3 separate regions of the Homo sapiens genome follow, and regions 2 and 3 are each linked to region 1. The links are contacts of gene promoters, found by promoter capture Hi-C in blood cells and fetal thymus (Javierre and others, 2016). All regions are on one chromosome and are shown on one strand. Each heading gives the region's core, a stretch centred on a gene start or on the middle of the fragment in contact. The rest is flanking DNA. Distances are from core to core; before and after follow the strand shown. Region 1 holds the start of LSM10 (LSM10, U7 small nuclear RNA associated). Region 2 overlaps THRAP3 (thyroid hormone receptor associated protein 3). Region 3 overlaps MAP7D1 (MAP7 domain containing 1).

Region 1 (4,331 bases), core at 560-3,059:
TGTAGTCCCAGCTACTCGGGGGGCTGAGGCAGGAGAATGGCGTGAACCTGGGAGACAGAGCTTGCAGTGAGCTGCAAGTGGAGTGCCACTGCACTCCAGCCTGGGCAGCAGAGTGACTCCATCTCAAAAAAAAAAAAAAAAAAAAAAAAAAGAAAGCTCCCCAGATAACTCCAAAGTGCTGAGGGGTACTGGTTAGAAATGCGCAATCTCAGGTCTCTCCCCAAGCCTGTTCTGAGATAAAATCCACTCCTTCACTGAGTGGCTCACTGCCATCTTCCACGCTGGCTGGAAACAGACTGCATTTTAACATGACCCCCTACGTGAATTAGATACACGTTAAGGTTTGAGAATCATTGGTTGACACCAGTAGTTCTCAAACATTAGTGTGTATCAGAATCATCTGAGGGGCTTGTTAACTCAGCTTGCTGGGCCCCACTCCCAGTTTGACTCAGGTCTGAGGTGAGGCCCAGAGATAAAGTCATTTTGAACATGTTCCCAGGTGATGCTGATGCTGCTGGTCAGGGGCCCACACTCTGGGAACTATTGGTCTACACCATGCAGCTGTTATGTAAGTAGAAATTAAGGTAATGAGGCCGGGTGCAAGGGCTCACGCCTGTAATCCCAGGATTTTGGGAGGCCAAGGCGAGTGGATCACCTGAGGTCAGGAGTTCAAGACCCGCCTGGCCAACATGGTGAAACCCAGTATCTACCAAAAATACAAAAATTACCTGGGCATGGGCGCACCTGTAATCTCAGCTACTTGGGAGGCTGAAGCAGGAGAATCGCTTGAACCCAGGAGGCAGAGGTTACAGTGAGCCAAGATTGTGCCACTGCACACCAGCCTGGGTGACACAGCGAGACTCTCAGAAAAAAAAAAAGAAAATAAATCTGGATAATGAATTGGGGAAAAAAACCCCCAACCGGTATTATATAAGGTACATAGGTTTTGAAGGTAGAGAAACCTAGGTTGGAATCCCCACTCCACCCCTAATTATGAAAACCTAGAAAAGTTAATGTCTCTGAACCTGTTTCCACATTTATTAAACTACAGGAGAAACAAAGCTACCAGAATCACACTCCACTAAAGGTACTCTCCTTTGATTTCAACATGCCCTGATAATGTATTAGTGCACTATGTCTTACCTATCCCTTATTTTCAGACCTGAGTTAAAGGGGGTGGAACGCTCTCTCTTTACGACCTCACTCAGCATCCCGTCCAGGGCTGTGCATTGTGGCACTGAGCGTGGCAAGCCAGACTAGGCCAGTGACGAGGGGGCCTGGGAGCTAGGTCCCTGGGCATGGCCTAACGACCAGCCACCCGGCTGCAGCCTGATGAATCTGCGATCAAGCAAAGGTATGGGGCTGCTGCTGCGACTGCAAAGAGCAGTCACCGGACCTCGAGTCAGGCCCGGGTTCTAGAACAGGCTTTGCCACCTCCTAGGAGGGCGATCACTTAGCAAACCACTTAGCTTCTCCAAGCTAGCTAAGCTACCGGTAAAACGGGATGAGCACCGCTTACTCAGAGCAGCGGGAGCGGGTCTGGGGAAAGGAGCTATACTCGGTAAATGGGGAAGAAAACGCTTCCTGGGCTCCGGCACCTCCTTCCGGAGGTCCTGGCATCCCCCGCATTCCGCCCCGGGGCTCCCTGCACCGCCGACCCGGACCCACCACGCGACATTCCTTCCGCTTTCCCCGTCTGGGTCGCCGCCGAAGCTAGCGGGCGCCTGGACTGGCTGCCTCCCGCCGGCTGCAGCAGGACGGAGAAACCATGCCGGCGACCGGGCCGCTCTGTCCTCCGGGCGCAGAGTGCGTCAGTGCTCTGCAAGTCACCGCGTCACGGAGAAACTACAATCCCCAGAATGCTTCGCGGCGCGGGGCTCGTGCTCCGCAAATCCCGGCCTGCGTCATTGGAGTCTCTTTCACTAGAGTCGTTCATTCATTCCGCACGCATTCATTGAACCGGCGACCTGGGCCAGGCTCCTTCCCAGGCTCCGGCATGGAGCAGTGACCAAGATCAAGTGGCTCCCTGAGCTGATGGCGCTGCAGGGGAGAGAGTCTTAAGAAAACAAAGAAGAAAAATAGGGAAAAATTTCTTCAGAAGATTAAAGGTGTGATGTGATGGTGACAAGGTGGTCTTTTATTGGATTGTCAGGGGTGCCCTGAGAAGGTGACATTTGAGTTGAGATTAGTGACATGAAGCCAAGCTTGTGAAAACTATGGGAGGAGCATTGCAATTAGCGGGAACAGTTTGTTAAGTAAAATTTATAGGAGGCAGGGCCGGGTGCAGAGGCCCACACCTGTAATCCCAGCACTTTGGAGGACAAGGCGGAAGGATCACTGGAGCCCAGGAGTTCGAGACCAGTCTGGGCAACAATGGGGAGACCCTGTCTCTACAAAAAATAGAAAAAATTAGCCCACCGTGGTGGCGTACACCTCTGGTCCCACCTACTTGGGAGGCTGAGGCAGGAGAATTGCTTGAATCCAGGAAGTGGAGGCTGCAGTGAGCTCAGAAAGTAACACTTCATTCCAGCCTGGGCAACAGAGCAAGACTCCGTCTCAAAAAAAAAAAAAAATTGGAGGCCATTGGTTTGAACAGGGCTCCTGCACCAAGCCCAACAGAACCAAAATGGAGTCACTCATGCTAAAGTTCTACATCACCAAGTGGAAACTAAGTTGTTTATCTGATATTCCGATAAATCAGAAGAGTGAGAGATAGCTAGATCTCCAAACCATCCTGTTTTAGCTGGCAGGATAAGGAAGTCCCCTCTGCTTTAGCCTTCAAAGTTACAAGGAAAGTAACTTTGAAACAACCAATCTTTTTGTTTTCTGTTTCTGCTTTCCTCAGCCCTTTTCTGGCTGTAAAACCAATCTCCTCTGCTCAGCTCATTTGAACACTCATTCCATTTTATAGAATGAAGTGTTGCCCGATTCTAGAGTTGCAAATAAAAGTCAGATTTAACAAATTTGGCAAAAAAAAGTCAAATCACCAATTAAAAGTTAAATTTTTTCTTTTCACAGTTCATGCAAAGAACCTGGGGGAAATGACCTTGACAATTTAGGAACACAGGAAAGGCCAGGGAAGCTGGGGAGAGTGGTATAACAAGAGGCCAGAGAGGAAGCAGGAACCAGAGCATATAGGGCTTTGTGAGCCAAGGTAAGGAGTTTAGATTTCATGGTTAGGAGTGCAGCCTCCGGATACAGTGCCTAGGTTCAAATCTACTCCTGGCTAATTGTGACTTTGGGCAAGTTAGTATCTTCTCTGTGCCTCAGTCTTCTCATCTAGTACTAGAAGTGCTATGACAGGCTATTGAAAGGGAGCGAAGTGATTTGATTTACTTGTAGAGACAGGTTCTCACCCTGTCATCCAGGCTGGAGTGCAGTGGTGTGATCATAGCTCACTGCAGCCTCAACTACCTGGGCTCAAGTGATCCTCCTACCCAAGCCTCAAGAATAGCTGGGACTACAGGCACACGCCACTGTGCCCCACCTGATTTACATTTTTTAAAAGTCACTCTGTATAGCCTTGGAAAAATTACTTTCTTCCTCAGCCTCAATTTGCTTGTTATGAAAACAAAAAATTAGGCCTTTCTCAGAGAACTGTAAGATTTAAGTGACCTTCATTAATGTGTGAAAGCATCTGGCACAGAGAAGAAGCTCAGTAAATTAGGCTTCTTGGCTGGGGGTGGTGGCTCACACCTGTAATCCCAACACTTTGGGAGGCCAAGGCAAGAGGACTGTTTAAGCTCAGGAGTTTGAGACCAGCCTGGGCAACATAGTGAGACCCCATCTCTAAATTTTTTTTTGTTTTTGAGATGGAGTTTCACTCTTGTTGCCCAGGCTGGAGTGCAATGGCCTGATCTCGGCTTACAACCTCCGCCTCCCGGGTTGAAGCAATTCTCCTGCCTCAGCCTCCCAAGTAGCTGGGATTACAGGTGTGCACCACCACACCCGGCTAATTTTTGTATTTTTAGTAGTGACGGGGTTTCTCCATGTCGGTCAGGCTGGTGTCGAACTCCCTACCTCAGGTGATCTGCCCACCTCGGCCTCCCAAAGTGCTGGGATTACAGGCGTGAGCCACCGAGCCCGGCCAAAAATGTTTTAAGAAATTAGCTGGGTGTGGCCGGGCGCGGTGGCTCACGCCTGTAATCCCAGCACTTTGGGAGGCCGAGGCGGGCGGATCACGAGGTCAGGAGATGGAGACCATCCTGGCTAACATGGTGAAACCCTGTCTCTACTAAAAATACAAAAAATTAGCTGGACGTGGCGGCGGGCGTCTGTAGTCCCAGCTACTCGGGAGGCTGAGGCAGGAGAATGGCGTGAACCTGGGAGGC
Region 2 (4,177 bases), core at 745-3,244, 160 kb before region 1:
TGGAGACAAGGTCTTATTTCATTGCCCAGGCTGGAGTGCAGTGGTGCAGTCATAGCTTACTACTGCCCCTCAAACTCCTGGGCTTGAAAGGTGACTCCTGATCCTGAGAGGATCGAGTGATCCTTCCACCTCAGCTTCACAAGTAAGTAGCTGGGACTGTAGGTGCATGCCACCATGCCCGACTGTTCTTTCTTTCTTTCTTTATTGTTTAATTATTATTATTATTTTTTGAGATGGAGTCTTGCTCTGTCGCCTAGGCTGGAGTGCAGTGGCGCGATCTCGGCTCACTGCAAGCTCCGCCTCCTGGGTTCACGCCATTCTCCTGCCTCAGCCTCCCAAGTAGCTGGGAGTACAGGTGCCCACAACCACACCCGGCTAATTTTTTTGTTAGCCAGGATGGTCTCGATCTCCTGAGCTGGTGATCCGCCCGCCTCGGCCTCCCAAAGTTCTGGGATTACAGGTGTGAGCCACCATGCCCGGCCGTGTTTTTTTATTTTCTGTAGAGGCGGGGTCTCCCTGTGTTGCCCAGGCTGGTCTTTTTTTTTTTTTTTTTTTTGAGTCAGCTTCTCGCTCTATTACCCGGGCTGGAGTGCAGTGGCTCGATGTCAGCTTACTACAACCTCCGCCGCCCCTGCACCGGCTTTCAGCGATTCTCCTGCCTCAGCCTCCCAAGTAGATGGGATTACAGGTTTGCGCCACCATGGCCAGCTAATTTTTGTGTTTTTAGTAGAGACGAGGTTTCACCATGTTGCCCAGATTGGTCTTTAATGCCTGTGCTCAAGTAATCCTCTCACCTCGGCCTCCTAAATTGCTGGGGTTACAGGCATGAGCCACCTTACCTGGCCAAACTGGCTTTTACATTTCATCATCCCTGTAAGGCCTTTGTTTCCCTGGTTCTGGGTAGGTTAATCACTCTGTATCAAGTGTATTCTAGCAGGGATGGCAATATCTTTGATTTCTGTTTTCCTCCAACATTTTATTAGGAAAGATTTCAAGCATACAAAAAAGTTGAAACAATTGTACAGTACAGTGAGACCTATATGTCCATCACCTAGATTTTACATTTGTTAGCATTTGCTTAATTGCTTTGTCACTTCTTTCCACTAATCAACTCATTTTACTTTTTTCGTGGTAAAATATGTATAACATAAAATTTTATCATCTTAATCATTTGTTTTTGTGGCTACATTTCACAATTTATTTACATTTTAAGATAAACCTTGAGCTCAGAATGACATATCCCTATGTGTTTGTTTTTTAGTTGACTTCACGTAAAGGCATGGTTTGTTACACAAAGAATATAAATATTTACCATGTCTGTTACATGTAACACATAAGAACAGCTTGTAACAGAAATTCATCAACCCCCCTACATTAAGGTTCTCCAGAGGGACAGAACCAAAGGGTATATGTATAAATAAAAGTGAGTTTATTAGGAAGAATTGGCTCTCACAGTTACAGGGTGAAGTTCCATGATAGGCTGTCTGCAAGCTGGGGAAAGAGAGAAGCTGGTCACGTGGCTCAGTCCAAGTCTAAAAGCCTCAAAACCAGGGAAGCCAACAGTGCAGCCCTTAGTTTGAGGTGAAAGGGCCCGAGAGCCCCTGGGAGGCCTCTAGTGCAAGTCCTAGAGTCCAAAGGCTGAAGAACCTGGAGTCTGATGTCTAAGGGCAGGAGGAGAGGAAGCCAGGCATCTGTCACAGCATGAGAGAGAGAGCAGACTCAGCAAGCAATCTACTTATCCCCATTGTTTAGCTGTGCTTAAAGCTGATTGAATGGTGTCCCACCCACATTGAGAGTCCAGCTGGACATGTGGGCTGGTTCCTCTCACAGTCCACTCACTCACATGTCAGTCTTCTCTGGCAACACCCTCACAGACGTACCCAGGAACATTGCCTCAGCCATATAGCTATTCCTCTGTCCAGTCAAGTTGACACCTAATATTAACCATCACAGCCCTTAACATTTTTTTTGGTATAAATATAGGTATCAAAATAATCCTGGACATATTTTGGATTTTTTTTTTCTTGTGTATATTTTGGATACTTCTAGAAGTCAGCACCTGCACCGCTTCAAAAATTAACATAATTTGTGATAATATTTATTTTACCTGCTACTTTAAACAATTTTGGCTGCAGTTTTTCACTAAGCAAAATAGGTAAAGTGTGCCATTTCTGTTTTTTCCTTCTTAAGATTTTTACTTTTCGGCCGGGCGCAGTGGCTCACGCCTGTAATCCCAGCACTTTGGGAGGCTGAGGTGGGCGGATCACGAGGTCAGGAGATCGGGACCATCCCGGCTAACACGGTGAAACCCCGTCTCTACTAAAAATACAAAAAAATTATCCGGGCGTGGTGGCAGGTGCCTGTAGTCCCAGCTACTTGGGAGGCTGAGGCAGGAGAATGGCGTGAACCCAGGAGGCGGAGCTTGCAGTGAGCCGAGATCGGGCCTGGGCGACAGTGCAAGACTCCGTTTCAAAAAAAAAAAAAAAAAGATTTTTACTTTTCAGAAATACGTGCCGCTGACACCTGACACCTCTCACCACACTTGTTTTTGTAAACCTGAATTCTCTTTAGAGTACTTCAGGTTTATGTTTAAATGACAGTGCCCTAATGAGAAAAAAAATTGTGCTGTATTTTTCTTCCCATTATCTGAAATGATAATGGGTGTATATATATATATATATATATATATATATATATATATATATATACACATATATAAATAAATATATATTCTTACAAATGTCCAGGTCATGTTTACCAGCAGAAATTCTTAATGTGTGAGTATTTTGCATTGTGATATTTAATTAAGACATTAACATGAGTAGAAGGTTGACTGAAGTTTAAGATCCGCTAAAATTTTTTTTTTTTTTTTTTTCAGACAGAGTCTTGCTCTGTTGCCCAGGCTGGAGTGCAGTGGCGTGATCTTGGCTCACTGCAATCTCCACCTCCTGGGTTCAAGCAGTTCTCCTGCCTCAGCCTCCAGAGTAGCTAGGACTACAGGCACCCACCACCATGCCTGGCTAATTTTTGTATTTTTCTTAGAGATGGAGTTTCACCACATTAGTCAGGCTGGCCTCGAACTCCTGACCTCAGGTGATCCACCCACCTCGGCCTCCCAAAGTGTTGGGATTACAGGTGTGAGCCACCATGCCCGGCCAAGATCTGCTAAAATTAATTGTCATGGTTTTACTTCTGGTGGCTGTGGAAGCTACTTATTTTCTTTGGATGTCATTAGATGTCTTAGCTCTTGAAGTAAGTAGAACTTTAATGTTGTATGGATTTTGCCATTTTGCTAACACTGGTATGCTCCATGCATCCACAGTCCCGCTGGAATTAATTTTTCCATTCATAATAATTTTTGTTATAAACCTAACTGATGGAGCTTCTGGGTATTTAGGTCTACATTCTACTTCAGGTTATATATTCTGCTTTCATTTTTTTGTTTGTTCATTTATTTGTTTTTTGAGACAAGGTCTCACTGTCCCACAGGCTGGAGTACAGTGGCACGAACATACGAACTCCTGGGCCGAAATGATCCTCCTGCCTCAGCCTCCAGAGTAGCTGGGACCACAGGTGTGCGCCATGATGCCTGGCTAATTTTCTTTATATTTTGTAGAGACCAGGTCTTGCCATGTTGCCCAGGTTGATCTTGAACTCCTGGGCTGAAGTGAGCTTCCCAGCTTAGTCTCTCAAAGTGCTGGGATTACAGGTGCGAGCCGTCTGTTTTGATTTTTTTTTTTTTTTTTTTTGAGATGGAGTCTTGCTCTGTCGCCCAGGCTGGAGTGCAGAGACGCGATCTCCGCTCACTGCAAGCTCTGCCTCATGGGTTCACGCCATTCTCCTGTCTCGGCCTCCTAAGTAGCTGGGACTACAGGCGCCAGCCACCACGCTCGGCTAATTTTTTGTATTTTTAGTAGAGACGGGGTTTCACTGTGTTAGCCAGGATGGTCTGGATCTCCTGACCTGTGATCCGCCTGCCTCGCCCTCCCAAAGTGCTGGGATTACAGGCGTGAGCCACCACGCCCACCCTCTGTTTTGATTTTCTAAGGCATATAGATAGATTTGTCAGTCTTTACCTTTATGGTTTGTACTTATAGAATTTTGTTTGAAATCCTTCCTCACCCTGAATTCATACAGATATTCTCTTCTGTTTTCTTCTAAAAATTTTAAAGCTTTT
Region 3 (4,278 bases), core at 1,229-3,728, 230 kb before region 1:
GGGCTTGCCCGAGGTTCGCCGGGAGCCGAGGTCCTCAGTCAGGCCTGTCAGACTCTGAAGCCTGTGACCTTTCTGCTCCACTGCATCTGATGCCTGGGTGCAGGTTCTTCCAAGCCTCACTCCTCTACCTCCTCCCAGCCTCCTTTCACATAGCGAGTCAGGACCTTGCTGGGGACTCACTGACTGTCTTGCCTGGTGGGTGTGATTTGCCTAGGTGTAGACAAACACCCGCCTACCAGTTTTCCTTGCAACACCTGCAGCACGCACAGGTGCTTGGAGAATGGCAATAAACAGACCTCACCCTCAACCTTCAAGCTTAATACTTACACACCCAGGCTTTGGCTTCAGACAGTCCTGAGTTCAAATCCCAACTCTAGGCTGGGTGCGGTGGCTCACGCCTGTAATCCCAGCACTTTGGGAGGCTGAGGAGGGCGGATCACGAGGTCAAGAGATGGAGACCAGCCTGGCCAACATGGTGAAACCCCGTCTCTACTAAAAATACAAAAATTAGCTGGGTGTGGTGGTGCCTGCCTGTTGTCCCAGCTACTCTGGAGGCTGAGGCAGGAGAATTGCTTGAACCTGGGAGGCAGAGGTTGCAGTGAGCCGAGATCGCACCACTGCACTCCAGCCTGGCAACAGAGTGAGACTCCATCTCAGGAAAAAAAAAAAAAAAGCCCAACTCTGCCACATACTAGTTCTATGACTCTGTGTGGATCACTTTGCAGGTTGGGCCTTGGTTGCCACACTTGTATAATGGGGATAAGAATCTCTGCCTCTCAGAATTGCGAGGACACAGGGTGCACCACTGTTAGTGAGTAGTAAGCACTCACTAGAGTGAGTAACTGGTTTTGTTGACTACTGGAATTGGTAAAGGAGTTTGCAGTTGGCTGGGAAATAGATTAGCAGTGACCAGGCAGCCGTCTCCTGCTGGTATGGGAAGAGATGGGTGGCTTGTCATGTAGCCTAGGAGTTGGTGGAGTTGGTGGAGTTGGAGGGGTAATGGGGAAGACAGGGCCTCAGCTGGGGCTCTTGCCTGGATCCTAGCAAGCTGGATGGGAAGGAATGAGGCGGAAAATAGTGTGAGCCTCAGATAATTTATTGCGTAACACCTATTCCCTCATATTGCCTTCAACAAGGCAGGAGGGTATAATGGGTAAGGACAGGCTCTGATGATGGCTACTGGGTCCAAGTCCAGGCTCCCTGACTGACCAGCTGAATGATCTCAAATTACCTCTTTTTTTTGCTTCATCTTTTTTTACTTTACTGTCCTCATCTATATGAGGACTCCTTCATAACTATTGTCAGTGAGGATTAAAACTAATAACATATAAGGCCGGGTGCAGTGGCTCATGCCTGTAATCCCAGCACTTTGGGAGGTCGAGACGGGCAGACCACCTGAAGTCGGGAGTTCGAGACCAGCCTGGCCAACATGGTGAAACGCCGTCTCTACTAAAAATACAAAAATTAGCTGGGCGTGGTGGCAGGTGCCTGTAATCCCAGCTACTTGGGAGGCTGAGGCAGGATAATCACTTGAACTTGGAAGGCAGAGGTTGCAGTGAGCCGAGATCGTGCCAATGCACTCCAGCCTGGGCAACAGAGCAAGGCTCTGTCTTGAAAAAAAAAAAAAAAGGCCGGGCGCGGTGGGCAGTGGCTCACGCCTGTAATCCCAGCACTTCGGGAGGCTGAGGCGGGCGGATCATGAGGTCAGGAAATTGAGACCATCCTGGCTAACACCGTGAAACCCCGTCTCTACTAAAAATACAAAAAATTAGCCAGGCGTGGTGGCGGGCGCCTGTAGTCCCAGTTACTCGGGAAGCTGAGGCAGGAGAATGGGGTGAACCCAGGAGGCGGAGCTTGCGGTGAGCCCAGATTGCGCCACTGCACTCCAGCCGGGGTGACAGAGCGAGACTCCGTCTCAAAAAAAAAAAAAAAGAAAAATGTTTCCTTAGATGAAGCTTCCCACAGATGCCGGCCCTGCTCCCTAAGCAAGTTGGTAGCTGTGTTCCCATTGATCTCCTCAGTGCCTGGATGGTAGCAGCAGATGGCACCAGGGCTCAACATACAGAAGCTTCTGTTTGGGAGACCAGGAGGCTTCATAAGACCAACAGGGAGTGCTGTTTGCTGGCTGGCATGTGGATAGTGCCAGGCACCTTGCTGACATTCCCTACTAGCTTGGGCTTGTTATCCCCATTTTACAGGTATCAAAACTGAGGCTGAGCCAGGCATGGGCCTGTAATCCCAGCTACTTGGGAGACTGAGGCAGAAGGATCTCTTGAACTCAGGAGTTTGAATCCAGCCTGGGCCACATAGCAAGACCCTATCTCTTAAAAAATAAAAATTTAAAAAAAGAGACTTAAAGGAACTAACTAGACCCTTGAAAAATTCACTAGCAGCAAGTAGACTTGGGGGGAAACAAAACAAAACAAAACAAAAAAACCTGAGGCTGAGAGAGGTTGACTGGCTTGTCCATGGTTGTCTGCTGGGGAAACAAGCCCTCTCTTCCCATCTTCCTCATCTGACTGACTCTGAAGCCTGTCTCTCAATTGCCCCACATGTGTATATGTCAAATCGTGTGGCTCCCTTACTTCACTTCGATGTCTTTTACAGGATTCCTACAATAGTCATGTCTTAAAAGCAGAAATTTCGGTGTGGCTTGGGGAAAAAAGATTATAAAGTGGACGTAGCTTGTTGCCAATGGAATCTTCACAGCAAAGCATTCCACTAGAGCCCATACTTACGTCCTTCCTCTTGGTCAGTCCCATGTGCCCAGCACTGGCACCCTCTGTGAACAGACCTTGGGTTGGGCACAGTCACCCAGAAGTAAAGCAGAAAGGAGAGGGAGGCAGACATGGAAACAATCAGTGCATTTGGTGCACGAATAAGTGCTACAAGCTTGTTCTCAGCTTTTCCAACACACCCTGCTCCATTCTGCCCCTTCGCATATACTCTTCTCTGCCAACACCTCTCCTCCTTGCTTTGCTGACTCCAGCTTATCCTTCGGATCTCAGCTTGGTTGTTACTTCTTCAGCAAGCCCTCCCCATATAGGTTAACTATCTCTGCTTTGCTGCCCCAGACATAGTATTTATTCTCTACTGTAGTTGCCTAGCTATTTGTCTGTCTGCCCTGCTAGAGGGTAAGCGCCACAGAGGCAGGGATCATGGCTATTTTCTCACCATTATATCATGAGTATCTGGAACAGGGCCCGGCACATAGAAATAACTCAAACATAAGTGAATGAAGAAGTCGGTTGAACAAGGGAGAGGGCCACATATGGGGCTGATGGCACAGATGAGCAATCTGACCTCTCTCCTCTCTTGTGTTGGTCTTTCAGCTGTGGTCGCCAGGACCCCCCCAGAGCCAAGACCTTCTCCAGAAGGTGACCCTTCCCCCCCACCACCACCAATGTCAGCCCTGGTCCCCGACACTCCCCCGGACACCCCTCCTGCCATGAAGAATGCCACTAGCTCTAAGCAGCTCCCACTGGAACCAGAGAGCCCCTCAGGGCAGGTCGGGCCTAGGCCAGCCCCCCCGCAGGAAGAGTCCCCTTCCTCTGAAGCAAAGAGCAGAGGACCCACCCCACCAGCCATGGGCCCACGGGATGCCAGACCTCCTCGAAGGAGCAGCCAGCCATCTCCAACAGCAGTGCCAGCCTCCGACAGCCCTCCCACCAAGCAAGGTGTGTGTAATGACCCCGGCCTGGGCCTAAACCTCTTGGCTCAGGGTCCTGGCCCTGGATCATGCCAACTGAAAGAGTCCTGTTTGCCCTAGAGGAGATAAAGAAAGGATGGGGTGAGGCCCGGAGGGAGGGATCTGAGGCTGACTCCTCTTTGGGGACAGCCTTTTGACCTGTCTGTTCTTGTTCCCTCTGCTCAGAGGTGAAGAAGGCAGGAGAGAGACACAAGCTGGCAAAGGAGCGGCGAGAAGAGCGGGCCAAGTACCTGGGTGAGTGAGCAGGAAGCCTCATCATCTTCTTCATCGTCATCATCAGCATCCTATTAATAACACCAACAGGCTGGGGCGCAGTGGCTCACGCCTGTAATCCCAGCACTTTGGGAGGCCGAGGCGGGCGAATCACCTGAGGTCAGGAGTTTGAGACTAGCCTGACCAATGTGGAGAAACCCTGTCTCTACTAAAAATACAAAAAATTAGCCAGGCATGGTGGCACATCCCTGTAATCCCAGCTACTCGGGAGACTGAGATAGGAGAACTGCTTGAACCTGGGAGGCGGAGGTTGTGGTGAGCCGAGATTGTGCCATTGCACTCCAGTCTGGGCAACA

What was found. Contacts are between HindIII fragments. The CHiCAGO score rates a contact against its expected background, and 5 or more counts as called.
Region 2: a fragment that was not itself captured here is called in contact with the fragment with the promoter of LSM10 in region 1 in 1 of 17 cell types (neutrophils); the score reaches 5.2 in neutrophils.
Region 3: a contact is called between a fragment that was not itself captured here and the fragment with the promoter of LSM10 in region 1, in 1 of 17 cell types (neutrophils). The highest score is 5.5, in neutrophils.

What each region holds. Positions count from the first base shown.
Region 1 is chr1:36,396,099-36,400,429 of GRCh38, forward strand. LSM10 (LSM10, U7 small nuclear RNA associated) reads right to left here and starts at 1,810. Exons shown (of 2, transcript NM_032881.3): 1 at 1,669-1,810. RefSeq lists enhancers at 955-1,667, 1,668-2,379, 4,097-4,331. The HindIII fragment of the contact is 5,014 bases long and covers 1-2,202 here.
Region 2 is chr1:36,238,722-36,242,898 of GRCh38, forward strand. All of the region lies in intron 1 of THRAP3 (thyroid hormone receptor associated protein 3), which reads left to right. It also overlaps the pseudogene UBE2V2P4. Among named protein-coding and RNA genes, the nearest start is that of THRAP3, 16 kb to the left of the region's middle. The HindIII fragment of the contact is 4,351 bases long and covers 1-4,170 here.
Region 3 is chr1:36,167,639-36,171,916 of GRCh38, forward strand. MAP7D1 (MAP7 domain containing 1) reads left to right here. Exons shown (of 17, transcript NM_001388490.1): 2 at 3,333-3,677; 3 at 3,875-3,943. Among named protein-coding and RNA genes, the nearest start is that of MAP7D1, 14 kb to the left of the region's middle. The HindIII fragment of the contact is 824 bases long and covers 2,067-2,890 here.